Linked DNA regions of Homo sapiens: all the other regions are linked to region 1. The links are contacts of gene promoters, found by promoter capture Hi-C in blood cells and fetal thymus (Javierre and others, 2016). All regions are on one chromosome and are shown on one strand. Each heading gives the region's core, a stretch centred on a gene start or on the middle of the fragment in contact. The rest is flanking DNA. Distances are from core to core; before and after follow the strand shown.

What was found. Contacts are between HindIII fragments. The CHiCAGO score rates a contact against its expected background, and 5 or more counts as called.
Region 2: a fragment that was not itself captured here is called in contact with the fragment with the promoter of FAM237A in region 1 in 1 of 17 cell types (fetal thymus); the score reaches 6.1 in fetal thymus.
Region 3: a fragment that was not itself captured here is called in contact with the fragment with the promoter of FAM237A in region 1 in 2 of 17 cell types (naive CD8 T cells and fetal thymus); the score reaches 6.8 in naive CD8 T cells.
Region 4: a contact is called between a fragment that was not itself captured here and the fragment with the promoter of FAM237A in region 1, in 1 of 17 cell types (naive CD8 T cells). The highest score is 5.2, in naive CD8 T cells.

The regions. Positions count from the first base shown.
Region 1 is chr2:206,639,143-206,646,686 of GRCh38, forward strand. FAM237A (family with sequence similarity 237 member A) reads left to right here and starts at 3,345. Exons shown (of 3, transcript NM_001102659.3): 1 at 3,345-3,440; 2 at 5,085-5,506. The coding sequence starts at 5,095. RefSeq lists enhancers at 2,535-3,116, 3,117-3,696. The HindIII fragment of the contact is 6,542 bases long and covers 1-5,906 here.
Region 2 is chr2:207,477,298-207,484,841 of GRCh38, forward strand. No RefSeq gene overlaps it. Among named protein-coding and RNA genes, the nearest start is that of CREB1, 49 kb to the right of the region's middle. RefSeq lists an enhancer at 7,402-7,471. The HindIII fragment of the contact is 905 bases long and covers 3,770-4,674 here.
Region 3 is chr2:207,431,529-207,439,072 of GRCh38, forward strand. No RefSeq gene overlaps it. Among named protein-coding and RNA genes, the nearest start is that of CREB1, 95 kb to the right of the region's middle. The HindIII fragment of the contact is 3,759 bases long and covers 2,188-5,946 here.
Region 4 is chr2:207,402,741-207,410,284 of GRCh38, forward strand. No RefSeq gene overlaps it. Among named protein-coding and RNA genes, the nearest start is that of CREB1, 120 kb to the right of the region's middle. The HindIII fragment of the contact is 968 bases long and covers 3,942-4,909 here.

The DNA of each region.
Region 1 (7,544 bases), core at 2,095-4,594:
AGCACACTCTCCTGATTCCTCCTATCTCTTTGTTTCTTAGTGACTCCAATACTGGCATTTTCCAGGTTCTATCCCAAGTTGTATCCCTACTGTTGTAGCCACTTTCCACACTTTTCTCTGATGGCTCAAAATATTGCCTACATGTTGATGAAATCCCAAATCTGGACCTCTTTCCTGAGCACTGTATCCCAAATATTTATCGTAAGTTCCCCCTTCTTCCCTACCTACTTGGAATTTCCATTTGGATGTCAGTCATCTCACACTCAACATGTTTAAAACTAGATTCTTATTTTCCTTTCCTAAACCTATTCCTCAAATCATTTCTCCTTTCAGCTGATGGAAATTCAAATTTCCATTTACTTATTCCCCAAAAGTTGGTGTCATCTTCAACTTCTCTCTCTCTGTTGGACCTTATATCCAGTCCATCGATGAGTCTTATCCCTTCTACCATCAAAATATATTCAGAATCTGACCACTTTCACCCTCTCCACTGCTGCCACCCTTATCTATTCCGCCATCTTATCCCACCTTGATTGCAACAGCTCCTAACTGAGCTCCCTCCTCGTCCCTTGCTCCTCTCTGGTCTGTTCTCTACTGAGCAACCAACATGGATTTTTGGTCACTTCTCTGACCTCATGTCCTGCCACTATGCCTCAAAAACACCCTTCTCACACCACACTTGTTCCAAAGCCATCAGACTTGTTTTCCCACCCCCAGCCTGAAGCATTCTTTTACTATGCATGACTCACCCTCTCACTTTTTTGGGTCTTTGCTCAAATATCTTCTTATCAGGAAGGGCTTCTCTTAGTATTCTATATAAAATAGCTCTTCTCCATCATCCTTTTCCCTGCTTTACTTTTTGTTGATGACCCTTTGTTTTTTTCACAGAGACTCGCTTTGTAATCCAGGCTGTAGTGCAGTGGCGTGATCTCAGCTCAGTGCAACCTCCGCCTGCTGGATTCAAGCGATTCTCGTGCCTTAGCTTCCTGAGTTTCTGGGAGTACAAATGCGTGCCACCACACCAAGCTAATTCTGTGTATGTATTTGTATTTTTTTTAGTACAGATGGGGTTTTACCATGTTGGCCAGGCTGGTCTTGAACTCCCAACCTCAGGTGATCCACCTGTCTCGGCCTCCCAAACTGCTGGGATTACAGGCATGAACCACTGCACCTGGCTGACCCTTTGTTTTTCTTATCACATCTGACACTTTACTCATATATTTTTTCTTGGGCTTCAGAATGACGGATAAACTTTATTGACTCATGCATGGCACTACTTGTGTATTTAATTAGCTAGTTGTGTGTTTGTTTTTGATAGATAGCTGTAAACTCACCATTCAACATAGAAACTAGAAGCATAAATCATATATTATGTGTGTGCACACGTATACATATACACTATATATGTGTATAGATATAATTTTAAAATTAAAATATAAATAATTTTTTTCCATCACTCCAGACTCAACTAGCATGTAAGCTACATGCGTACAAGGACTTTGTTTTGTTCCTTCTGTATACACAGCATGTAAAATAGTGCCTAACACATAGGCACTTGAAAATAAAGTAAGCACTGCATGTTTATATATGAATGTTTTCAACAGTAATGTAACTATTGACACGTCCCAAACCAGGGGACACATCTTTACCTCTGTTCTGTTCGGCCTTCCCTCTCTACAGTCCTTTCTTTGACTTCGCTCCCTAGAAGCATGAACTGCGATGAGCACTCCCTTCCTGCCTTTGCTTGTACTGTCTTCTACCCCTGAAACTGCACTCCTGACCCTTTGGCTTTAGGATACCTGTACAACTCGTTTTTCCAGACATTCACGAGTCACCTCCAAATGCTTTCTCGATCTGACGATTATGTGTCTTGGGGTTGATCTTGTCATGGAGTATCTTACTGGAGTTGTCTGGATTTCCTGAATTTAAATGTTGCCCTATCTTGTTAGGTTGGGGAACTTCTCCTGGATGATGTCCTGAAGTATGTTTTCTCCAAAGGCATGAGCTCCTCAAAGTTCAGGAAGCAAGTCCAAGACTTCACCCTTGATCTTTTTCCACAGCCCTATGGGGTGAATAGAAGCAGACATTAGATACAGCTCACACATGGAGAAACTGAAGTACACTCCATCATTTCTGAGCAGGAGGAATAGCTCAGAGCCCCCCAGAACTCCTCTTCAGACCTCCTATTTAATGGTACCTTGGGGAAGGGGCTGGTTCTCTGTGGCTTCGGCAAATCTTACTACAAAGCCTTGTGCCCCTCGGAAGGTAACCATGGATACTATTGAGCTGGCACAAAAGCCTTCAGTTAGTGGAGACTACAAGTGGTTTTCAGGGGCTGAAGGAATTTTCAGGAAAGGGGCAAAACGTGGAAACACTTGCAGAGGGAAGACCTTTGCCTCAGGCCCCTTGGCTGGGTGTGTTTCAGTTAAGATGGGCACTTATGCTCAGAGGAGCACTGGAGCAGTGACAGGGCTCTAATCTGGGACTGGGATAGTAAGTAGCTGTGAGGTGAGAATCAAAGGGAATCCCAGGCGCTTTTTTTTTCTTGGAAAGCTGGGACCCTGCTGTGAAATCTGGAGCGGGGTTGTTGGGGGGTTGAGGTGCTGACCAAAGCGATGCCAGCAGCAACCCAGTCTCCTGAGTGACCCAGGCCAGGGTCTGGAAACAACGGGGTGTCCTGGCAACAGTCAGGGGGAGCTTCCAGCAGGGCGAAGTCCCTATCCTCATCTCTGCCCTCGGGGGTGTTTTTCTCCTTTCGGCCCAGGGCTACAGGCAGGAGAAATTCACACCTGGAATATCTCGAGGAGGCGCCTTATTTCCTCTGAGCCCTTGCTGAGTGTCGAGAGGCAGCTCATGTCCCTCCTCCGACCCCAAGAGTCCACAGTCTTCCCTCACACCCCTTTATTCTCGGACGAGGCCCGTGTGGTGAGCGGGAACCCCTGCTGTCCCCTGGACCAGCGCGGAGCTGGGCCCTAACTTTGCAGTTCCCGCCGCATCGGCACGCACCCGCGAGGTGGGAGCGGGAAGCCCAGCCGCATTAGAGGCTCAATTCCGGCAGGTGCAGAGTGGGTGCGGGTCAAGGCCAATGAGAGTGTGTGTGGCCAAGCCCGCTGGTTTCCTGAACCGAAATTCTCCGGGGAGGGAGAGAAGAGGAGGGTGCGGGAGACGGACTTGGAGGCGAGAGGTGGCGGCAGTTTCCAGGAGCTTTGACGTAGACTTGGAGAGGCGCCGAGCACTCCCACTGCTTAAGTAGAGGCACGGTAGCCTCCAGGACGCGGAAGCTGGGGACAGCCACTCGCTCGGGAGCAGCCTGAGCGTTTCCTCTCCGCGTACTCGAGGGAACTCTCTCCACGCGTTCGAGGGAACCCGGAAGGGGCCAGGCGGGTGAGTGCGGAGGGAAGCCCTTGTGCCATCTGGGAGTAGAGCCGCCGAGTCAGGAGGTGAGTGGGGCCCAAAGGACAGAGTGGGTCCCTGGCAGCTCCGCCCTGCGGAGGGTGAGGCTGCGCAATCAAGTGCGGGGCCGAGACTCAGCGCGGGGCTCGTAGCGGGGTGCACGGAGGACTCTAGGTTCAAGGAACTCAGAGAAACACCTTTCCAGGGTCTGGGAAGCCTCTCCTAAAATTTAGAAGGGGACCTAAAGGAGCCAATTTGAGCGCCGTGGCGCCAGCAGACAGGGAGTCCCGGATAACGCCAACTTCAGTACCTTGGACAGAGTCCTGCCCTCTGAAAACTTAGCTTAGACTTGTCCTTTAGGAAAACCACCCTTTGAGGTACCTCGATATTTTAGTTCGGAAAGGGACACAACAAATATGATTTCAAGTAGAGATAATGCATACATGATATGAAAGATAGAGGAAATAGTTTTTGAATAATCTTGTATCTCTAACATGCTTCTTCAATATAGGAACATGCATGTTCAAAGACACTTTCTGAAATATTTATTTAACAGTACCTAAACATGTCCTACTGCTGTTCAGAAGAGACAGATTATCCAACTTATGGTGTTATCATTAAATATTCCAATATAAGAGTATTCCCACAAGCTGTATTTTGCTTGCTTTCATGATACTAACATCTAAAAGGTTTGGAAATATAATACAAACCTGAAAGTGAGCTGTATGTGCCCTTCCTATTTTTTCTTTATGTTAGAGCTGTTTAAATGTGATACACATTTTGTATAGTCTGTGAAGGAATATATACACTTTTTCTGGCAAAAAAAGTGAACATTTGGGTTATTATTATTTCAAGAGCATCGTTTATCATTGCACCTGTCCGAAGTGGTAACAAAAGAACAATTTCAAAGTGGTATGTAGATGACTCAATTTTATGGCAACAGACATTGAAAGCCAGAAAAGTTGAATGAGAGTCACGTTTTTTAAAAAAAAAATCCTTGAGATTCATAGCAAGAACAGAGAGATTATAAAACATTATCTTTATGAAAGTTATATCAGAATTGCAGAACATTATTGGTATTTGTAAAATGCTTATTGATTCTACTCTAATTGGTTGAATATATGTCTCTTTGTTTCCACATATATTCATCCATACTTTTAGCACATTGTCTTTTGTTAATTTTACTATAACATTTGACAATTCTGATGTATTTTTTAAAAAAATTAAAAGTCACAGTGAACAGGAATGGATCTAAAGGTTAAATATATTTAAATTCTTAATTATATATAAGTCCTAGATTAGGAGAGCCAGGTTTCGCTAAGATATTATGGAATAGTTAAAGCCATGCAGCAAAATTTTAAATGTTCACTTAGTATGCTGTTAGGCTACATTCTTCTGTACCAGAGAAAAACAGATTAGCAGATTAATTTATTCATCTTGTAAAGGAACACATCTTAGGAGGGAATATGTCTTGGCCTGACCGTCTTGGATTTATGTTCACTCCCTGGCCTGGCAATGAGTCATTTTAGATAGAACGGAGCTTGTGATATGGGAGCTTGGCTAAGATTTCCCTACTTTGTGACAATGATGTGTTTCCTTTGCTGGAAGTAAGGTTATTAAGGGCATACTTATTTTCTTTACTGAGCAGAGCACAAGCGGGGACTGATAAGAAATATTTCCATCCTGTGCAGTTTTAGGGCCATGGCTGATCCTGGGAACAGAGGAGGGATCCACCGCCCCTTGAGCTTCACCTGCTCCCTGCTCATTGTGGGAATGTGCTGTGTATCTCCTTTCTTCTGCCATAGCCAGACAGACTTGCTGGCTCTTAGCCAAGCTGATCCTCAGTGCTGGGAATCCTCCTCAGTGCTTCTCCTGGAAATGTGGAAACCTCGCGTTTCCAACACTGTTTCAGGCTTCTGGGATTTTATGATCTACCTGAAGTCATCTGAGAACTTGAAGCATGGAGCACTGTTTTGGGATCTGGCCCAACTCTTCTGGGACATCTATGTGGACTGTGTGCTCTCTAGGAACCATGGCTTAGGAAGGAGGCAATTGGTTGGAGAGGAAGAGAAAATCTCAGCAGCGCAGCCACAGCACACAAGGAGTAAACAAGGTGGTCAACCCCAGCTCCCATGTCTTTTGAAAGGGTCAATCAAGTATGAATGTGCTGAATTGTGAGGAAGAGGGAAATGGCATTAGGGGAATCCAGTGTCATATATATTCCTCTCAAGAGGTGAACCCCAAGAGCACATAACTGATAGGAAGATAGATAGTACTTCTTTTTGCATTGCATAGTAGCTGTTTATATCAACATATTGTCCTCATCCTCATACTTCCTGTGAACAGCAGCAAGGAAGAGTCAGAAAGAAAAGACAAAAAGCATGATTCCCAAAATACAGCATAAAAGTATAAACAGATCCCCCAAGATCAACATTATTTTTTACTATTAGCCTGAACACTGGCAGTCATAACCTGATGTTTACTTGCCGTGGAATTGAGAAGACTTGAATATAAGCTTAGGAAACATTTGCAGCACACAAATTCTTGCCCTTGTTAAACTGAAAATAAATATTGCTTTCATGTAAATAGAGAGGCTCTTTGAGAGGTATTCAGTTGAAGAAATAAAGAGTAAAAAAGTCAGCTGGCATGTAGATTCACTTCATGTTGCTTTTTGAATGAATCTCAAGTAAGTAATTAACTTGCAGCAATCTGAGTAATTAATTTTTAGTAAGTTGGAACTTGCTACAAATTTAGAGTTTTTCATTGAAGTAAATACTATATTCAAATAGTCTCGTCTGAGGGTACAGAAAAAAAGTCCCTTATAGAATTAGAATGAGGTTGAGTAAGCCTCTGTGAGTAAGCAGAGAGATGCCTGAACCCTATACATATTATTGTTATCTTTTTTTGATGTCATTTCAACCAATGAGCATTGAAACCTTTTATCAAGGGCTGTTTGAGTGCCAGTAACTCTTTAGAATTATATATACAACAGTAGAAAACAGGGGCATAACTAATTTTTACATTTGTACATTTTAGTGTTAGAATTGTTACATATTCCTGTAACCTCCATATTAAAATAGCAATTAACAGTGGTAGTTCTAGTGCTACCCTTTCCCAAGATATTTTAGAGCTTTTATATATCTAGTTTGTTTTAACCTTAGTAATTAAAAATCCTCATGATTTGCTAATCCAAAAAACCCAGATAATTCATGGCTATTATTTACAGATAAGTTTATTATTTTGGTAAGTGTTATTGTAACTCAAACCAATTTCATTTTTAGAGGAAATATTCTTTCAGCAGCCTTGCTACTAAAGTAGAAATACCAAATGAATATTTTTAAATGTTGGTTACCCATATTTTTAAAATATTTTGAACAGAGGCTGCCCAGGCATCAGCACCAGTACAGACCATGGTTTTTTTTTTTATTCTATACTGCTGAGGATGGTCTGTAGGGCCTTTTCTTCCATACTTTAAAAATCATATTGGCCAGGCATGGTGGCTCACGCCTGTAATCCCAGCACTTTGGGAGGCCAAGGCAGGCGGAACACGAGGTGAGGAGATCGAGACCATCCTGGCTAACACGGTGAAACCCCGTCTCTACTAAAAATACAAAAAAATTAGCCGGATGTGGTGGCGGGCACCTGTAGTCCCAGCTACTCGGGAGGCTGAGGCAGGAGAATGGCGTGAACCCGGGAGGCGGAGCTTGCAGTGAGCCGAGATCGCACCACTGCACTCCAGACTGGGTGACAGAGCAAGACTCTATCTTAAAAAAAAAAAAAAATCATATTTAGCTGTCTTACTCAAATCACCAGCAATATCTTTTTCTATCTTGCACTTACTTTGAATAACTCAAAGAAATGTCTACTAAATAAATGAAAATATTATTTCTATTCAGCTGAACACAAAAAGTTATATATATACTTATTTTATAAAGCTTTTCTCCGAGACAGCTTCAGCTTTGGAAGTCACTTCCTTCGTCTTGCTACGGAGTTGTTGGTGATTCAGCTGGTCTGCAAACTTTAGGGAGTTGGTATGCAAGTAGCCAAATAGCAGGAGTGAGTGTTTCACTTTATTGAGATTATTTTAATGTTTGACACAAAAAATTGTTTGCAGACCAAGAAACAAGACTTTCCATTTGGTTTGTATAACC
Region 2 (7,544 bases), core at 2,972-5,471, 840 kb after region 1:
AAATCAGAAGACATGTGTTAAGTATTCAGAGTCTACAAAAGAAATGTATGCTAGAAAGACCAAGATAGCATCAGACGATGCAGCATTTGATATACAGTAAATATGAAAGAGTTATTCAAAGGGGACCTTATGAAAAAGGAAGCTATTGCTATATAATCATATCTTATATAACAAATAATAACTTTTTAAAAGATAGAGGTTGGGAGAAAGGAAATAAAACTCTTTACAATTTTATTTTCTTTTTTTTTTTTTCTGGAGACAATGTCTGGCTCTGTCACCCAGGCTGGAGTGCAATGGCACAATCTCAGCTCACTGCAACCTCCACCTCTCAGGTTCAAGCAATTCTCCTGCCTCATCCTCCCCAGTAGCTGGGATTACAGATGCGTACCACCACACCCAGCTAATTTTTGTATTTTTAGTAGAGATGGGGTTTCGCCATGTTGGCCAGGCTGGTCTTGAACTCCTGACTTCAGGTGATCCACCCACCTCGGCTTCCCAAAGTGCTGGGATTACAGGCATGAGCCACCAGGCCCGGCCACAATTTTTATTTTTAATGGACTTGATTGATTACTGATTGCTACTGCAACCATTACTTAAAATTTTTTTTTATATACTTAATATATAAGTTACGATATGGGGTTCAGGACAGACTATCCCAGAATATTTTCAGCTGAAAGAATTTGAGAAAAATGACAGAAGCAGCAAGTCCACTCTCATCATACCGCTACCCTTCTCTGAAGCAGGTGCTAACAGCTTCATGTGCGAGGCGTCCTCCCTATGCCTGGAGGGAAAAAACATCCTTATCTCTGAAGACCTAGGGTCACAGAAAAGAATCTGAACAATCAGGTCTTGCTAAATTTCCCCCAGTGCCTTACCATTAGATCACACCCTTTTCACCCTATCGTATTTCTCCATGACTCTTCACTGTTCATCAAACCTAGCATGAAAATACTCACATTTACCCATTTCTTGGGGGTCTTCATTTCTTTATGAGGGCCCTCATGTCACATAAAATTTATATTAAACACATTTGTATCCTTTTGTTAATCTGTCTTTTGCTGTGGGGACCTCAGCCATCAACCTACGATGGGTAAAGGAAAAGATATTTTTCTTCTACAGTTAAAAACATAAAAATTAGAAAATCCCTGGGAAATATTTTTATATCACCAGCAAATATCCTGACTAGTCAAAGTGAGGCTTGCCATCAAAAGGAAGTCAGGATTCATCTATTTCTATTATGACCTTTCATTTCCTGCTGCATATTATAGTACATAGTAGACATTCAACAAATGTGGTTGACTGATGGATGGATTCATTTAACCGGTAATTATCAAGCAAGCACTATCAGGCAGACTGATCCAAGCACTATGGGAAGTGGGACTCGGCCTCCCTCTCTTACGACAGACTGGGCATGTGTAAACTTCTGTGCCTATGTTGCCCCATCAGCAATCTGGGGTTTCTAACTCCTAACATCCTCTAGTAATTTTGTTCATTGTAGTGAAAAACTGTCACTATACTCCTGGACTGAAGATTGCTGTAAGACAGTGGTTCTCAATGGGAGGCAAAGGCATTTGTTGAATGTCTACTATGTACTATAATATGCAGCAGGAAATGAAAGGTCATAATAGAAATAGATGAATCCTGACTTCCTTTTGATGGCAAGCCTCATTTTGACTAGTCAGGATATTTGCTGGTGATATAAAAATATTTCCCGGGGATTTTCTAATTTTTATGTTTTTAACTGTAGGAGAAGAAAAATATCTTTTCCTTTACCCATCATAGGTTGATGGCTGAGGTCCCCACGGCAATGGGAGGCAATATTGCTCCCCGGGGACATTTGGCCATGTCAGAATACACCGTTTATTGTCACACTAGAGGAAGGGGTCCTACTAGCATCTAATAGGGAGAGGCCATGGATGCTGTTAAATAGCCTATAATGCACAGGCAGCTCCTCCGTCCCAAACAGAGTTAGCAGCGCTGCGGTTGAGTAGAAAAATGCTCTAAGTTCACACATAAGTGTCATAAAGATCTTTGTGGGGTCACAAGGATGAAGGTCATCAACTTCATGCATAATGATTGAAATGGGAGGGGTCTAGCAGATCCAAACTACTTGATTATTTGATATTTCACAAAATACTGACTAATCTGCGTCATAATAACTATTGCTTACTGTCAAATGAGATTATTATCTCTTCTTAAAAGCCCATGTGTTTGAACTCTGTGGAAAGTAACACCACAAGAAAAAAAATCAGGGAGAGTTTGAAGAACTGTTTGTCACTGTTTACATTTCCCTCAACCCAGGAAGATGAGAGAAATTCTTGGAGCTTTCTAAATGCTTTGCTCGAATAAAGTGAAACCCACATCCACAACATCAAACATGCCAACAAGACATCACTCCCTTGAAATTCAAAGAGAAAAATACTCTCAACAAGAACTGTGGAAGCTTAGGGTAGTATAAATGTTTTAAATGATTTTCTTAAAAAAAAAACCTTACTCTGAAAACTAGTATCCTTAACAAAGGAAGATCAACTCTACATAAGAATTTTAAAAACACTCAGGTGGAAGTAGAACAAAAGCAAGAAGATATATTTAGACACAAATGCTGTAACTGTTTTCCATTGACAATCATTCCAGAAAATTTCTCCAATTAGGCAAATAAAGGGGTTTTAAAGGCATTCTCAGATGTGCTTATTAGTGTGGATTATTGTTTCTTTTTTGTTTGCAAACAGTATAAGACAAAATGGAGTTTCATCAGTCAAGGAGTTATTCAAGATAAAAATTAACAAATTACTTTTTCGGGTGAAAACTTTTACTCACTTTTTAAAATCTAATTTCCACTCTACCTAAAGATAAGTTATGAAATCAGTACTGTAGAAAGGGAGAAAGAGAGCACATATGTGGCACCTTTGCTTTTATTGTCTTCGAGCCAAATCCTTGACATTCATTATTAATATATTATGGTCATAATAGATATTACAATCAAAAATCATTTGCCCGATTGTTCCCTTTTTGACCCATAGGTCACAGAGTATCCTATTTATAATTCTGCTTTAGAAAGAAGTTTAAGAAAGGGACAAAATAGCCTCACCGCTTCATTGATTAACAAGTTGAGTTGAGTTTCTAAGCCCCTGACCTCACTCTAGATTTGGTGCAGCAGAGAGAGAGAGCTGGACACTCAGGAGAGGTCTGGGTAGAGTATTAGCCAAGGACAAAGCACTATACTGGCTCTCGTGTAGCTTAGATACCAAGTGAAAAAAATGATATGAGAATGTAATGAAAGCCTAATAAAATCCATTTCAAACCACTGCAGGGTAGGGTCAAGAGTCCTAGGGAGAGTCCAGACAGGGACACGTGTGACCGCTGAAATTAACATCTCACCTGGCAAGCCCCACTGCTTCACTTTGATTGGCACCCAGCTCAAGAGCTCATCACAGTGGTTCGAGGCATTCAACCTGCTGGGCTCCTTTTCTCACCAACTCAGCTGCTCCCCTTGTCCAACCCTCAGGGATTCTTTCTCTGGCCCAGTGAAAGATGACCAAGCAGACACAGCAAAATATGTTTTTAGAGGAAGAGGAAGAAGAAAAGGAGAAGGAGACCATGGAAGCACTTGTGAAAACATGTTTGGGAGAAAAACAAGCCTGGACTTCTAGACTGATACTATTTTGCTTCTAAATAAACCATTGGAAAACACTACATAATAGTAGCTAACTTTTATTGAGTGTTTACTACATGCCAAGCTCTTTCTAAATACTTTTCATATGTTAGCACAAGCTTCACATCAGCCCCTGTAGTTTGTACAGTTATTGCCCCACTTGTTGGATGGGGAAAGTAGGACACACACCCTTGGTTACACTAGTAAATGGCAGACCTGGAAGAGGAATCCAGGAAGCCTGACTTCAGAGCCCAGGCATGCTCCTAATTGTCTTCATCTCCCCTTGTCTATCCAATGCCTATGCTGGATGGCCATTGCTATGGCATGTTTTATAGAGAGAAAATGAGAAGCACAAAAGCTGTATGACCATCCACAACCCTGATGCTATGAAAACCCAAGTATCTAATGCCTCCATTGTTTTTCTGCACCACTGGGCATATTTAACCAAATAATTTGATGAAAATAGTCCTGGAACCAAATCCAGTGTAGCAGTACAATAATAGCACGAACAATAGAAAGCAAAACACAGATGAAGAATTGTGCTCTTTTTATCAGTTGGATTGTTCTCTAATCATTTCATATATATGAATGTCTGAAATTGCAACTATAAATCCCTCAAGGATAGGAATATATATTTCTTTTTAAATATCATAGAACACTGACATGTAGTATGATTGATAATTACTGGTTAAATGAATCCATTCATCAATCAACCACATTTGTTGAATGTCTACCACGTACTATAATATACAGCAGGAAATGAAAGATCGTAACAGAACTAGATTAATTCTGACTTCCTTTTGATGGCAAACAGGATAACATAAATACCTTCAAAATCAAAAATAAAAGTATTCTCCCTTTTTTTCTTATCAAGAGAACTCAAATCCATTTGGGGTGGCAAGGTACTCGGTTTAAAAACCCTGCCCTGACCTGGATTATTCCCTGATGGTTAGAGGAGGCCATGGAATTAGTGCTGGCTGATTAAATGTAAGCAAAAAATCACAGGGTGGAGCTGCCAGGAAAGCTTTTGAAAAAGGCACCAGCTCTGCAGGTCTCTGCCTCTCTACTTCTTCTTGCCTGGCATAAACACATGGCTGAGTTTCCAGCCAGGATGACTGTGGAGAAGCAGGAAGGAGCCCAGGTCCTAAGTGACCTTCATAGATACCAGCACCTGCCCTGGACTGCCCTGCTCTGGGTTCATGTCACATGAGGAAAATATCCACCTTCCTCGTATAAGCCTAGGAAGCCAGGTTTCTCTTCCATGCAGCTGAACCTAACCGCAATTGCTGATGACTGCTTATCTGGTCTGTCCTCCCTCGCCCCTTACTGGTTTTGAGAAGCCAGTAAAATTCTTCTAATTCTGTATATACAGCCACAGGCAGAGATATTTTTAAAGGGGAAAGAAACTCAAGGAGATACAATAATTACTAATTACACATTATATAACTCTTACAGGTTTGATTATTTTTGGAAATTATTTGGAAGAAAAACAGTAGATATTTTATAACATTTTTTTCTTCAAGGTCCCCATCTGTTTATTTTTTACACCTTTTTGATGAAATCACTGTTCATATTATTTGCCTCTTAAAAGTTTCTCGCATATGAAGTTTTTGAATGATCTCCCACTAGACTTTCTAGTTGATTTTAATTACTATTTCTTGTTCCAAAACTAAACTGTATCATGACATCTGGGATCTTCTAGATAATATTAGATTTGAAACATTATGTAGTTTATTCTTAGAGTTGAAATCAAGTCTTCATATAACTTCTAAGGCACTTATTGAAATGACTGCTCAAAAAAAAATTGCTAAAGGAATCAACTTGTTCTCTCAGATGTTTAAATAGTATCCTAGTCATCACTTAAACAACGTTGCATAGTTAGCCTTGTACTCATATAGCATAAGCAAACGTATTTAGGTCAACCTCAATATTTTTTGGAACTGTACATATTTTTTCACTTCACAGAACTACCTCACAAACTTGATATGTTGATATGCCATCTGCTAGCTTTACAGTCTCAGTTATTCATATATCTCACGTCAAAACACCACCTCACTTTGCTTAATTGCCTCATAATTGAGAGAAAAGTTTGTTTCAGTTGGGAGTTATTGGAATGACTGTTTTATTTACTCCCAAACATTAATACTCTTCACCTTTCAGTGTGAGGATCTAACTTTTAACTTGGTTAAAAGTTACTTTAGAAAATATTCAAAAATAAACATACTAAATGAAGAATCAAACTCAGAAAAACTTGCCTGGCACTTACTCAAGTTATGCAAACTCATAAATAACTAGGAGATGAAGTTTGGTACTGATGAATTGCTGCATAGCATGGGAAATTTATTTTCTAGGGCAGTCTCTGGCTTTTAGAAGCTTAAATTACATACATCTCTTAAATACAAATGACTGCACCAGCCAGTGGGTTCCTAAAACTCCCCTTTCCTCTCCACTGTCACTACCTAGAATTTCTTTCTCCTGTCTCTCCTCTTTCCTCCTCTTCCCCAACTATAACCCTTGTGCTATGGAGGCCCCAATCTGCAGGGGTAGTAGAGATGGAAACAAATGTGAGAGAAGAATAAAGAGTCAACCTTCATCGCTCATTTCTTCTGTCCCTCTGTGCTTTGTAACTTCTCGAATCACCTATTGAGGGCAGGGGGAGGGGCCCTCCTTATGACTTCATACAACCTGCTTCATGATCTGGCTTCTAGGCATTTTTTCTTGTGTCATTGCCTAAAAAGTTGACCAATTCCTAGGAGGAACCCTACTCAGTTCAGTGTGGGCATCAGCCCAGTGTGGGTCTAGCTCCTGCCTGACCTCCTGGGATGAACATTCTTCCCACGTGCGGTTTCCTCATTTCACATCTTCCTGACTACACACTGAGCAACTTGAGATCAGAAAATGTCATTCATTTTTTGTAACTTCAAGGACCAGGAGGCTTGCTCAGTGTCTGGTGCTAAACTGGCAAAAAAAAAAAAAAAAAAAAAAAAAAAACACGCAGTGCTTAAAAAATATCTGCTGTAGCATTACTAAATGACCCTGGCACCTCTCCAAGTGCCTCATCCCAGAGACCCTACTCTTGCCCTCACCCTGCACGCTCCCCACCAAAAGTTACTCTTACATTGTAAAGAAGAAAGATGAAGTTAATTGAGTTGATATGGTTATAGATAACAGCCAACATTTAGTCAGCCTTTATGCTGTCTACATACTATTGTAAATATGCTACATCTATTGTGACCTTTAATTATTGAATCAACCCTCTGAGGTCTTGATGCTCTTCCTGAGTTAGAACTCCAGAACATATGTTCTCTACTCCGTTAATAGCCACTGACAGAATATAGCCAGGCATTAAAAAACAAGCATGACAACTAGGTAGGAGCATAGAGAATAAGAAGATAAAAAGCATATGTGCCTATAATCTATAGCTATTGAAATATATCATTGTAACAAGAGCTGAAAAGGAATGCCCAATGATAAGCAGTCTTTTTAAATATGTTATTATTGTTTTAAAAAAAACTTATAATATAATTCAAAGGTACTTTTAATGAGCTGGACCTATGTTTCAATGAATATCAGAACCAACGGTTAATGGAGGCTCTTAGAGAATGCTTGAAATTCTTAACTCTCCTTTTGCTTTTTATTTTTAGTCTTTGCCTTCTTTGCCAAATCCCCAAGCTGAGTGCTCACTTCAGACGCTGAGAAGAATGGAAGTGGGGGAGGAGAGCTAACACTTGTTGAGATTGGTAGGGAGGGACAACTAATGTTGCTTCCATCTTGTGTAAAATGTATATAAACACATCTTCAAATCTTTCTTTCCAACCAAACCCTCAGCCCCACCTAGAAGGAAATTACGGAGTCACCAGTAACTGAGTGTCTACTGTGTGGCAGGCTCCAG
Region 3 (7,544 bases), core at 2,817-5,316, 790 kb after region 1:
AGATAGATATTTCTATAATACCCAGGGCAAACAAGATGAGAGAGAAAAAAAGACTCCTTCCTGATGGTAATTAGCTTTATTCTGCACACTAGATTGTATTACCCTTGTCTTGGCAGGCAAAGGTTGCCCTTGTTCATAAATTTTATCCTGCCCACAGACTAATCTAACTATAGTAAATAATTTTCTCAATTCACAATTCTGCTTTCTCCAACCTGCTCATTATTTTCTATATTTTTGCAATAAGCACTACAAAATTGCATGTTTCATTACCAATTCAACATCCCTCTGAATGATGCATCTCTAAGTCCATTCCTTACCTACCCTGCATCAAAAGTGCTATACTCTTCAGTCTTTCACACTGTAAAATCTCTATTCAATAAAGAGTAGTTAATTTTTGATCAGGGAAGTGGGGGTTATAATACTTTCATAACACTGGCAATATTACAGAAACTTGAGAAGCAATATTTTATTTGTCAGTGCAGAGTGGTGGCAAGAGCATCAGATTGGGAGCTGGAAGATCAAGAGGCCTGTTAGCTGTGCGACCTTGGGCAGGTCTCTTCATCTTCCTGATCTTCAGGTTCACCGTGTATAAAAATCTCACCCACCTTCCAAGGCGATTTTGAGGCTCAAATAAATGAAGTAAAAATACTTGTAAACTGTAAAGAGCTACATAAATATGAAATGTTATTATTTAAAATAACATAAACGTTAAAGGCCCAGCTTTCACTCCATGGGCCTGTGGCTATAACTTTCTGAAGGTAACACTGAAATTGAACCTACACTATGTGCTCCTGTAGTTACTATTTGTGCCCCAGTAAATCCTTCTGCTACATCCTTGTGTCTTGTGGGTGTTGTGTTGTCACTGTTTGTTTTGGTTTTGCTATCTGAAGTACTGATTTTATAGCTTTCCTCAATGAGGACAAATGAAAATTTTCATAGGCAGAAATTCATCTCCATACAGGCTATCATTCCATCATTTCACAGCACTAAGGGAGACAGCCTACAGAACCTTAAACCTTTTTTTAAAGACCTCAGTGATATATGAACATTCATTTCCAAACACTCCCACTAGAGTAATTCTAATCCGGGGAGCTCTAGGGACTGTTTGCACGTGGTCTATATGAAGTCGTTTCTCAGGCACTTCTCCTCAATGTCATGTAGCCAACAGGCTGAATCAACCACATGCAGTAATGAAAACATCCTGTATTTATAGGAGTATTTCTCCAAGGAACATCCTTCAGCAGGAATGCCTGAAAGAGTTCTAAGAACTGAAGGACATATTTCAGATGTGTCTAACCTGTCTCCAAACCCCTATAAAAATGGTCAGGATACCAAATTGTGCCCTTCTCCGCCTTGTGCTGTAAAATGAAATGGGAGAGTTGTTTGGCTTTATGGCTCTGCGTGTCATTGTGTCTTCTAGCTATTACATGGGTGTAAAAAAAAATAAATAAAAATAAGCAATATGAAGCACTATGCCATGTCACCACCTCACCAAGCGGCTAAATAACTTCTACTGTGAAATTTGTTTTATCTTAAGGAATTTTTTTAAACATCAGTCTGTATAAGATAGTCTACAGGCATATAATTTTTAGATTTCCCCACAAACATAAACAAAACTCTTGGCAACTAGAAATACTAGAAGGAGAAAAAAAAAGATAGGGAAAATTTGCAGCAAACCAGTTTACAGTCTCTCCTCTTTAAAGTGAAGAGGAATTGGACTAGATTTGCTTTAGGATGCTCATACTGCTTAAATTTTTGAAATACACAAACAAAGAGTACACTGGACAGTTAATTATTTCATAATAGAAGATAAAATATATATTTTTCAAAAGTCTTTCTATAGATAGCCTTTTTTCAAAGTGACCTGAGAGCAGAGAGGATCCCAGGATTTCTGGGACAAGGGTTATTGATTATTTCCTTGGTCATGGTGGGGAAAAGGAAGAACTTCCTCCAGAGGAAGATGCTCACAGCCAGTGATCATGTAACAGACCTCCATGTCAAAAAGGCCGACAAGATCTCAAACTCCACTTGGAGGCTGATGGATGTGGATCCCATCCATGGATCAAGGACCTTTACCCAGGGTTGGTGCTGACCCAAATGATGGAATTTTTATCCATCCTCCTTGCTGTCCTAACCAGATTTGGAGACCTGCTCGCAACTCTGGATGGTGTGAATGTTCAAAGCACAAGCTTAAAGAGGTGAAGGAAGTGGAGGTAAGGAAAGTCCCTTGATCACTATCTAATACCATGAAGACTGGACATAGCCAGTATGTCTAGAGCATCTACTATGTGGCAGATACTAGAAAGACATACGACCTATACTGCCTTATTATAGTATGGCAGAAAATGGGTTGTTCTCTCCATGCCCCTTGTTCCTTTCCATCTTCACCCAGCAGATGACTTCAGTTAGTTGCTCAAGGTGATGTTACAGGAAACTCAATAAGTTTGTCCTATGGATGCTCTACTCTGAAGAATCTGGAATACCCATGCCTATACCATGGAGGACCTGAGGACCCACCATCTATTCCAATGATCCACCATCACCACCCTCTAAAGATGGAGAAAGGTACAAGAGTTTCAACCTTGGCCAAGTCTAGTGCCAGGAAAATGGAGCTAGGACAGGGTAGGGAAATCATAGAGGCAGAAAAAAAAAGAAATCAGGAAACAAAAAGTCTGCTTGGAAACCCATCAAAGGCTGACACAGTAGGGCTGAAAGGCAACCCAGTGAAGAAGTCTTATACCTCACTCTGGACTTTGTGTTTTTCCATGATCAGCTTATACTGAGCTCTTCTAAGCAATAGACTGTTTCTCAAGACTTTCTAGATGTTGCATGGCTATAAGATCCTTGTCTGGACCTACAAGGTCCAGAAGAAGAAACTGAAGCCCAGAGAAGTTAGGTAATTTGCACAAGAATACTTAGCTAGTAAGAAGCAGAGCCAAGATTCCAGCCCCGGGCAGCTTAACTCCAAAGCCCATGTATTAGTCACTACCCTACACACCTTCTCACCAGTGACAATTCTCCTGCCACATTTCCTCTACCCCACTAATGTACACTGGTAGTGTAAAAATTCAATATTCATCATTTTCTTCTCTGATGAAAAAGTTATTTGCATTGATTATGTATTTATTTGCATATTTCTAGGTGCTCCATAATATTCTAAATAACTTCCTCCACTATTCATTCCACACTTATTCAACACATAGCTCCTGAGTTTCTAAGGCAAGCGGGGCATTGTGCTGGGTGCTTAAGAAAGTCACAGTCCACTGAAAGAGATCACATTAAAATGAAAATAAGTGCTTGGTTTCCCATGGTACAGTAAGGCATAACCAAGATATTAGAGCTTGCTTATTGAGGTGCAATCCAAAACCACATTACTGGGCTATAATTTTCTATTTGATTGACAAGAAAGGACTAAGCGACTGGCCCAAGGTCAAGCAGCTAGTCAACAGCAGTTCATTTCACTTACTTTATTGTCTCTGACATACCATGTTTTCATGATTCACCCCCTCTTAATAGCCTTATGTAATGTTCAAAACATATTTTATGTTTTATAGACATTTTTTAAATTTAAAGCCAAAGAAGCAAAAGCGTCAAAAGCTAACGTTGGGCTGGATCACGTTTCAGCTGCCAGCTTTAAGGAGAGCAGAGTGCCTATAAGGTTTGGCTTCTCCCCAAGCATATTTCCAGGCTATGGAAGCAGTTAATTCTGCCCTAAATGCATGCTGTGTCCTCATCTCCTCAGTAGCCCTCTATCCAGGCTGAGACTTAATTGGTTTGGGTTGGGTAATTCATAGTGCCTCATTAGGGCATCAAAACACATACTAGGCTCTCTAGTAATTTTCTCCCCTGAAAAACATTGATTGGCTCCTTCATTGGGAAAGGAATTAGCTAAAAGACTACTGGGCTTGTACAAAGAGATTAAGTTCACAATGAATAATTTCAAAGTGTATTGTACAATCAGATTTCTTTGAGCCTATCTGTTGGTCAAATTTTTCTTTTCTTGCTATCACTTCTTGCACATCTACCCAATAGCAAGTGGACTATTAGTTACCTTGCAGAAATTAAATAGCCTAAGCATTCTAAAGTTTTTACTTGCCTGTCTCTCTATTTTCCTTTGACTGAGGTGAACTTTGTTAATGCACTGATAGGAAAACCACCAAAAGATGGCTTTTCTGCTGAACTTGATCATTAATTACTCCATCTCCCATTCTTGCTATAGCAGGCTTGGTCAGCACCCTGTCCATATCCCTTCTCTATATACATCAAAAAGTGCTAACTGTGAATACCTACCATTCTCTGCTTATGTTTTCTGGCTACAAGAGACAGGTCAGCCCTCCTACAGGGCAAGCTGGAAGTGCTAGGGTGTCTATGACCCTGCAAGCAACCTTCCATCAATGACAGATGGGATTTGGTTGATAAATACCCCAGATTTCTCACCTCCCAGTTGGAATAACTCTGAGATATGTTTTACACTCTTTCCCAGAGTTCCTGGGCAGAACAAGCTCAAGTTGCCTAAAGAGATGACTGGCGCGCCAATGCAAATTTCAGCGGCTTGTTTTTGTTCCCTGTCTCATTTCCATACTCCACTATCAGTGTGTCTTGGAGTCACCTCCCAAATATACTACTTCCATTTGATTCATTGTACCAGAGTCTGCTTCTGAGGCACCTAAAGCAAAACAGTCATCATGATCTAGTTAGTCTTTGGCTCTCACCACCTGACACTTAATTCTTGAGGTCACTGTGACAACAGTTACCCTGACATGAAGGGAGCTGAGCTTTCTCAGTTAATTCTGTGTTCACTCTATGAGCCAGATCTGGGGGCTAAGGGAGTAGATTTGCCAGGAGTCTGTTTTCATTAAAGTTCAAATAACTTCCCGGAAAGTAACTTACCCTAAGAGAAGGAAAAAATTGAGATCTACAAACTTGGTCCAAGGACTTTAGATCAGTGTTGTTGGGAGGAGAGGAAGTGGGTTTGAGTAGTGCCTTTGTGTACCTTTTACATTCTCTTACTCAAAATATCCTTACCCCATACCCATGGTCTTCTGAAGGCCCTCTAGTAGGGAATGGTAGGGGCGAGTGAAAGGAGGGCAAGGAAAAAGAGGGAGTAAAATAAACTAGAATCAATAAAATGGTTGCCTTTCTTACAGTTGCTGAAGGAGGTCAAAACAGAGACTTGCTGTGTTTTTGCTATTGTACCCTATTTTTACCCTCAGGTTGGTATGTCACGGAGAAACACTAAAAACATTTTGGTCAGCATCCCATTAATACAATTCCCCTGACAGTAGCCTGACTTGGTGTAGGCCAAAACATTCAATTTCAAAAAACCTGTGAATTTTTCTTTCAAGACAATATTCTGAAACTTTCCTACTAAAAAAATTTAATTTAATTTAAAAATAAAGCCATTTCCTTCTCGCCACAAACTATACATTAACCATATTGCTACTGACAGCCTTGAGGGGGCTGGCCTGCTGGCTTTCTTTCTTATCATTTACTTCCTTAGAAATCTGGCATGACCCCTAGTATCAGCATGAACAAGATTGTGAATGGGACCTACTCATGGGATTATGGATTCTGAATCCTCCAGGAGTGTCCCATAATGCCCCTGTCAGTTGGTTTTGCCTTTGGGCATCTAATTTAACTGACAAATCTGAGGAATCACATGGAAGCAGCCACCTCCCCAGCGACTTCACAGATGGGAGCCCTGCAGTGAGTAAGTTATTCCAGCAAGTTTGACATTACCTTATGTTGAACATTCTCCTGACAGGTCTGCTTATTTCTTAATGGCATAAAACAAGTCACTGTTATTAAGCATGAGTCTCCCTTGACTTGATAAATACCATGGCCCCATTTCTGGCTGTTTTAATGGATGTCCTAAAGGCATCTGAACATGGCATTTTACATTTGGCAGAAGCTCATCAACAACAATTTTTTCTAATTAGCCTTGGAAGCTTCAGACTTAAATGCACAGGGTCAAATATTCCAACAAGTGAGGGACATCCAACTCTCTGGACAAGTGCACTTTTGAGAGTGAACGGAGGGCGGGAGGGCATTCGTACTGCCTGAGCACATGTGGGTACATTTTGCAAAATCAACTTAGCTGCAGATTTAACCAGAAATCAAATCATGTCCTGGCATTATGCCTAGCAGGCATTATATAGTTGTTAGTTTCGATCACAAGAACAATTACTTCAAGTTATGGTGCAGAGCAGTGTTCAAAGTCCTCAGGCCTGCGAAGTCTTCCTGTGATGCTGCTAGCTGCAAAAATCAGTAGATGAAAGAAGTGCAATACTTTATACTTTCAGCCTTTATTAACATTTTGTCTGTCAATTGGCAACAGGCACAGAGCCCTGGCACTACACCAAACACCATGTGTACAGTGCCGAGAGAGCACAAATGAATGAGGAAGACATGACCCTCAGGCTCAGAACACTGACGTCTACACGGAGAGTCACGCTGTACTGAATAAGCATGCCCAAAACTGAAGAGAAAATACAGAACTCCGTATAAAGATGAGATAAGGGGCCAGTCACAGTGGCGCATGCCTGTAATCCCAGCACTTTGGGAGGCCAAGACAGGAGAATCGCTTGAGCTAGGTGTTCGAGACCAGCCTAGGCAACATAAAGAGACCCTGCCTCTACAAAAAATTAAAATATTAGCTGGAATTGGTGGCATGCACCTGTAGTCTCAAATATTCAAGAGGCTGATGAGGGAGGATCGCTTGAACCTGGGGCTTACAGGCTGCAGAGAGCTATGACTGTGCCACTGCACTACAGCCTGGACAACAGAATGAGGCCCCACCTCTAAAACTATATATCTGTATGAGATAATGAATACAAAGCATTTAGTTCCACGCCAAGGAGATGTCTCCCACAGTAAACACAAAGTGAGGAGTAACTATTATTATTTTATTAGAAACTTAAATTCATAATTACATAAATGCTGGCAGGAAACAAAGTCAGGTTAGAAAGAAATGAGTTCTGGGTTTTAGAGAGTTAGGTTGGAGCAGAGAAGACAGGATCCATTTCCATAAGAGAGAGCTGTTCAAGCCACAACACAGTGACAGAAGTGGGTCGATTTTATGCAAGGGCAGCAGATCTAGCTAGCCCTGAACAAGGCTTTCCTCCATCAAGGAAAAGTTAAAATAAAAGGTTATCTAGTTAGGAAGGTGGACATTCACTTTTGAGGCTAGGCAGAGGAGTTTAGATTCAATAGAGTCAAAAAATAAGGATCTACTGTATGTTCTTTTGACAGGCCAGCTACATAGTTTGTAGGACCCAAAGCAAAACAAAAATGTGGAGGCCCTTGTTCAAAAATTGTTAAAAATTTCAAGACAGGGACAAGTATTAAACCAAGCATGGTTCTTTTCCGAGCACAGGGCCCTGTGGCAATGCACAGGTCACATGACCATGAAACCAGCCCTGTCTTTGGGAGCGTAATGGTGAAAATGCTTTCCAAGGATTGTGATTTTAGAATCTACTCATGAGATGCACTGGAAAAGGAAAATATTAATAGTTGAGGTAGAGATCCACAAAGTTAACTCTTGC
Region 4 (7,544 bases), core at 3,176-5,675, 760 kb after region 1:
AACCTAGAAAACCTAAATCTTTTATAATGAATTGCTAGCAAACTTGCCCTTTCTTTGCCCCAAAGGAGATATTATCTTTATTATACGAAACAAAAAGTAAAGCCATCTTTCACTCTGGAGAGTCCATTTGCCATGTAAACACCCAGGAAAAGATAGTCCAAAACAAAAGTTGTCAATGCCCCTGATCACGAGATGTGCAGAAATGCAAGAGACCCAAGGAGAATTGTCTCCCAACAGCAGCAGACAAAAGAAAGCTACAGACACTGAGATAAACACAAAGAATAGGCTGTAAGTACTGACAGCAGAAGCCATGAGGTAGAGAGAAAGAAAGGAATGAAAGCTATTGCATTAGCGGCAGGAGAAATAAGCAAGAAAGGACATACCATCATCATGCCAATGGAAGTGTGTTGATATCTATAAACATGAGCTGCAATCATATTCTCTCATTAAATAGATAGTGCAGTACTTCTGAAGAAGTTATCAGTGAATGTGGGATCATTTTGTTTGACAGTGGAAATTTCTCACACTATCCACTAACCTACCCTGTCACCATAGTCAAGCAAGTCAAGCTAGAATCTCTGACTGTGTCAGCCTCCGGGGTTTTGTAGAAAATTTGTATTATGGAGATGTGGGCTAAATACTGGAGGTGATTCACTTCAGAAAGCTAAGCATTGGGAAACCATCTCTATCACAGTAACCATTTATGTTAAAGAAACTGATTTTGCACTGTTTTTAGCCTCCTGTATTTTATTTCTTTCCATCTTAATCTAACATTCTTTTCTAGACAAGAGATGTTTATTGTTATTTGTCAGTGGCAATAGCCAGATGTTCTAGATATACCTTTGTTAAAGGCAACACAATTATCTCAAAGGGCAATATTTATTTTAGACACTAACTTGGCCTCTGTTGCCAATTTTTCTAGTTATGGTTAGTTCATTGTACTTTGTCTCCAAAAAACAAATATCCCAAATTTTTTACATGAAGTGTACACTCAAAGCAGGCATCTTAAGTTGTTACTACCTCTTATTTATATTGCATTAAGTATTTTATTCACTCCCACAATAACGACAACTAAAAAAAAACTTCCTGTTCATTGATAATTAGATGTTTTGCTTCATTTGGACTTCCTCCAACAATCTTCTGTTCAGATTCAGCTCTTATAATTAATTATCCTCTTGCTGAACAACTAAAAACTGAAGTCTGACCAAAGTACATCTCATCCCACACAGATGTCCTAGTTACTCCACAAAAGGTTAATTAATCATAAGAGGTGCTTTAGAGCAGGAGGCGCTGGAAGAAATTCAGACCTAGTTTCTGGCAACACAGAAAAACTACCATCATGCCCCTTGTTATTGAGCTCACACTGAGAGAATCATTTCAATGGAGCAGAAATCCAACTGCATGAACGAAATAGCTGGTGGATATAATATCATGCCTCAGATAATGGAGCACACCACTTCCCAGTCACTGATGATTCAGAATCCCAGCCTGCCTGCAAGAGAAGGTCAGCACTGTTTGTCCTCATTTAACAGAGGTGCCTGAAAATCCCAAATCGCAACAATGGCAGAAGCAATCTTCATTGTTCTCCTCTCTTTGGCTGGGTGCCATTTTGTAACAGGAATGAGCCCTCTTCTCCAGCCAAAACAGTCTACACACAGTCGTCCAAATACACCTTGCATTTTCCAACCTGTGGCTTCAGTCATGCTAATCCCTCCAGTCCAGGTATAAACTTGTCTTCTTCCACCACCTAGCCAAACCCTATAATTCAGTCAAGAACCAGTTCAAATAACTCTTCCTCATACACCTGCATGCGGAACATTCCAACCCAATGGAAGTGCGTCCTCTTTTGATTCAGGAGCAGCTGTGGTGCGTTAGAAGGAGCACTGTCCTGAAACAGAAAATAGATGCAATATTGGCTGTATTAAATGTGTAACTTTGAGCAAGATATTTAACTCCTGTGAGCCTCAGCTTTCTGTTCAATAAAACGAGAAGAAGAATAGCTACTTTGTAGGCTTTATTGTGGAAATTAAATAAAATCAGGATTATGAAAATGTTTATCATTTTGTTGCTGCTCAGCACATATTTCTTTGCTTACTTGATAATTGACATCCCTGTGTTTTAGTTTGCTTTCTTTAGTTGTTTTTTCTTCCCCTTTTAACAAAAGATGTGAGAGAAAGTCACCTTAAAATAGTTCTCAAAATAGTAATCATCATCATCCCTTTCTGGGAACAGGGATGTAATAAATTGTGTGCTCTAAAGATCTATGAGATTTCCTTTTGGAGGAGCAGGGACAGAAAAGAGGTCAGGACTCAGATCAAGAATCTGAACCCATCATGGCCAAGCACTGGAGGACTCATTTCTGGTGCTGGAGATGGCTGTGAATTGAACAGGAGAAGAGTCCACTGCAATAGGTCATGCTGTTAGAGGTAGCATCCACAGGAGATGAGCACAACTGTGGTTCCCTTCACCCAGACGAGGTGTCTCTCTGTTACCAGCATGCTTTCCTAGACATGAAGAGAGACTACATATGAGTTTCCAGGTCCCCTTGGGAATCAGAAAAAAAAAGTGCTCCATATTCTGGAGATGAAAGGGAAGTGATGCTCTGGTGACAGCCATAAATCATCTCATTGAGTCTCATAAACTGTTAGCATGCCTTTTCTCCCCAACAGACTCTAAACTCCTGGAGGCCAAAAACTAGTTTGAAGTGTTTTATCTGTCCCTCAGGCCCTGAGCTCAGCGTGCACTTAGGTTCTGGTTTGTTTCCATGGGCTTTACTTGATTAGCCACTCTTCTTGTTCTCTCCACCATCTTTTCCTTGTTTATTGTTTAGCCATAATTTAGACCATATTAAAGTGGATTCTAAATCAATATCGAAGACTCTAGATGGTCAATGTTTTCTCCTTGCTGAATGATTCCTTCCATTTCTCTTGGAAGCTCCCATTGAAATGGAGAATTAACAAGCTTGCGGGAAGAAGAGAGCGGGAAGGGAGCAGGAAAGAGGATATTTGGCTATGGAATAGGAGCAAAAAATGCAATTTGTCTTTCATGAATAAGATTCTGTGAGAAAAAGGTGGCAATTCTAGTTCATGGAGATAGCAAGGTGTTCATGCCACTTCTGAAGCACTAGATCTTACTGGCCTTCTTGTCTACCATGTTTATTTGGTTCTTTGGAAGTCAGTCTTGAGCCAAAAGTATATGGAAGATTTTCGTCCGGTCCACAGTGTCAACCTATAAAATACATTGATATAAATAAACAACAACTTGTGTTCAACACATCTTTATTCAAGGGTTCAAATTCCTTTTCCAGCATGATTGTGCCCAGTCTTCAGAGATAACAGGGTACTTATCAACCTTCTTCATTTTAAAGATGCCAAAATTGAGTCAGTAAAGTCAAGTATCAAGTTCAGCCAAATAGAATTGGAACCCAATTCCATCGTGTGTGTGTGTGTGTGTGTGTGTGTGTGTGTGTGTGTATATATAATTATTGTAATTATTATCATTCAACGGCATTTCTGAAGCTGAATGTGAATCCTGCCCACTGTGCAGGATTCAGCCAGCACCTGAAATGCAGCCAACAGTGAAGAAGACAATGTTTTAATAAAAAAATAGTCCTGAGACCACAGCACTCCCAGTTTTGAAAGCCTTAAAATAAATTCCAAATTTATTCATAATGGAAAGAAATCACAGAATCCAAGGTACAAAATTATTTCTACAGCTGCTCCAATAAACATCAGAAAAAGCCTCGCCAACTCCTTCCTGTTCAGCCTACTGGTGTACACTAGAGGAGTTTTTAAAAGAATAACTCTTATCTGTCCTCATGAAAGCTAAAAAGCTAGTCTTATCAGGTCTAAAAAGAACGTGTTCAATTTCAAGGCTTCTAAAAAAACCTTCTGGTTGTATTTACCCACTTTCTCAATTAGCAAGGGTTTGAAATCCTGAAAAGCTTTCTTACTGCCTTAATTTTATAGTCAATGACATATATGCAGATATAGGTATAGATATGTAAAGAGATATAGAGATAGACATATATCTCATCTATCTCCCCAACTAGATTGTTAAACTCATGAATCCTAACTATAGCTAGAGTCTTCATCAATGTATTCATGTGCTCAGGCTGCCATTATAGAACACCACAGACTGAGTGGCTTAAACAATAGGAATTTATTTTCTCACAGTTTTAGAGGCTAGAAGGCCAAGACTGAAGTGTCAGCATGTTTGGTTTCTTCTGGGGCCTCTCTCCTTGCCTTGTAGATGACCACCTTCTCTCTGTGTCCTCACATGATCTTTCCTCTCTCTGTGCACAACTATCTGTATCCTGATATTCTCTTTTAATAAGGACCCCAGTCACGCTGGATTAGGGTCCACTCATATGACTTCATTTTACCTTAATTACTTCTTTAAAGGCCCTAACTCCAGTACAGTCACATTCTGAGGTACAGGGGTTAGGACTTCAACATATATAGTTGCAGGCGACACAAATCAGCTCATAAGACTGTATCTCCCAAGTATTTATGGTTTGCCCATGAAGAGGCCTCCATAAACGCATGTTGGTTAATGACTTGATGTAAATAAATATACAAGCTAATTCTGAATGGATGGAAAAGTATGGTGAGCTTGAAAAATCATCCCACATCCTTACCCTTTCAATTGTAATTAAAAAAAAAAAAAAAAAAAAAAACGAAAACAAATACAGAGCTCCTTCCTAATTCTGTATAAAGGCACGGGTGGTGGTGCCACACACACCTCTCCAAAAGGAAGCAAGACCTGCAGTATGCAAAGAACATTCCCGGAAGCTACCAAGCAGGGATGAGGCTTTTGAAAGCAGGCCAGACAGCAAGAGAAAAAGACACTGCTGTGATAAGGTTTGGAGGAGCAACTCCACGATTCACAGCAAAAGTATAGGATGCTAAGCTTTTTTCCCCAATTATTTAAAATGATGTAACTGGAGTGTTATTAGACATCAGAGAAATCTAGGTTGAAGTCCTGTCTCTTATCATGTAGGTGAACTTGAGCAAATTATTAATTGTCTCTAATGTTCCTCTTCCTCATCTGTAAAAGAGATAGCAGCTTTATTGTGAGAATTAAATATGCTAATTCACTTAACGTGTACTGACATTAACTGAGTGTTCGATTAATGTTAGTTTCTTTCCCCTTCTGACTTCCTCCTCAACCAAGACACAGTTTTTCCTCCTCAACCAAGACAGTTTTTCCTCCTCAACCAAGCACAGGCTCGCTAGAACACTGAAAGACCCCACTTCTCTCTAACACACTGTTTCTCAACTTTAAAAATCCACATGGCTCTTGATCATACAAAACTTTACTTTTCCACACCCTTTGTTGAGATTTGTAACTGTGACCTCTAAGATAGGTCGGAATATTAAAAAGGCAAATAACGCACACAGATTCCCCAAATCTCTCTCTCCAAGCCACAGAAAGCAGGGAAGATGAGCCTGAATGTCTGTCTGTGTGTGAGTGAGTGCGGGGTGCATCAGAGCGGATTCTCCCATGCTGCTCTCCAGTTACTTAGCCCCTGTGTAAGAATTAAATTATTCCCAGAAGTCACAGACAAGTCAAGTCAGCTGTTTTACTTAAAGGAGCAAGACAAAACCGAAAGCCCAAAATGGAAAACTGGAGAAGAAAGCAGTTGTTTGGGTGACAAACAATCACTGAAGCTCTTTCCGGCAACTCAAAGCTGGCTCTCAACACCTGATTATTTTCAAGAAGAAACGCAAATGATACGTGTTTGTTTTGTGGTTTATCAGTAAGCCAACTTGCTTGGTGTTTGCTAACCCTCTGCATTTGACTATATGGACCCAGCATTGGTAAGGGCAGGGAGGAAGTGAAAGAGGCATCTTTTAGATTTATTTTGCTTCTTAGTCTGTCTGCATCCTGGCAGGAATCCACCAGGCTTGTTTAAACATATTACCCATTTGTTAGACAAAGGGAGCTAAGCTGTGCCAGGTGCCTGTGGCATTATACAGGGTTAAGCAATGGCAGGAGAACATTTCCACAATTATCTTTCAGTCTGTGATAGACCTAAAGGAGCCAGCAAAGTTTGTTTACCGACCTTTCCAAGAAGTCTCAATGGGAGATGTGGGGACACTGAAAAAAATAAAAGAATATATTACAGAAAATTATTTTAATAAATGGAAAAAGACTCAAGATGTCTACACCCTACCTGTAACTGCATATTCTGGGTTACCTTTGTCATACTCTATAATTTCATGTATTTGATATAAGCTACATTCTCCTAAATTGGTTTGATCCAATGCCAATCACATACACACACACATACAGCCACATTCAAAAAGACTAAAAAATCTTTTTTAGTCCTAAAATCTGGGCTACAGTAGTGATCAAACATCTAAGAGTAACCTTCTAGGATTTGCTACTTTTCCCTTTCTGAAGCAAAGCATTTTGACATACATAGGTCATTCTCTGGCAAAAAAAAAAAAGAGAGAGAGAGGAAAAGGCAGAGCTCAGCAACTGCTTTATCAGAAGAACTCACAGGCATTAAATTTCTAACAAAGCTAACCCATGTAGTGTTTGGCAGCACAGTACTCCCAGACACACACACACACACACACACACACACACACACACACACACACACTCACATGTGCCCTGCAATTCTGCTCTATCAGCCTCTAGTTCTTCCCACTTGGCTCTGGGAGAAACAGACTAAACATCTTAACCCACCCTTAACATTTTCTGTACTCAGAACAACCTGATTAGAGCCAGATCTCACTTTTAATTCTGTTCTTTGAGACATCTTCCAGAAAGAAAATATACCTGTCTAGGGAAAGTTTAGAACAATGGCTAGAAATAGATACTGAGGCCAAATGAACACTTTTTGCCTTTGACCTGAATTAAAGGCAGCAAAAAGCAGAATTGGAAAATAGAATGGCTCTCTCTCTCAGCCTCTCTGGCTGTCAGCTCTCCACGTTAAGTGCTAAGGATACAAGATGAGCAGGACAGATGTAGTCTATGCTCTCATCGAATTCACAGAACAGTGGCAGAAATAGACAAGTCAAGAGGCAATTTCAGGACAGTCTGATCATGGCCTACAAGTCCTTTTGCTATCTGACCCATACTTAGCCATGATAAAGATTTGGGGAGTCAGAGAAGTCCTTTAAGCAGAGGCGTGACATGATCCGATCTGCTGTTTAGAAAAAGCACTTTGGCTGCAGTAGAGAGAATGAATTTAGGAGAAGTACAGTTAGTGGTGGAGTGACCAGTTTTAAGGCAGTTGAAGTAGCCCAGGGGAGAGATGGTGGTGGCCTGGCTTACAGACTTGGCATGGCAATGGCGAGAAGTGAACAGATTCAAGCAATAATGAGGAAACAGAATCCCTGCCTTCCTTCAACCGTGGGAATAGAAATGATGCACAGCTTGGGGGGAGGAGGAGTGAGACATTTCATTTTTTGCCTAATATTCTTCAAACACAAATTATCATTCCACATTTTCCCTTAGAAAATCACCATCTCCCATTCATCTTCACTGCAATTCTTGGTAATTGAAAGAAATATGGAATCCATCATTTA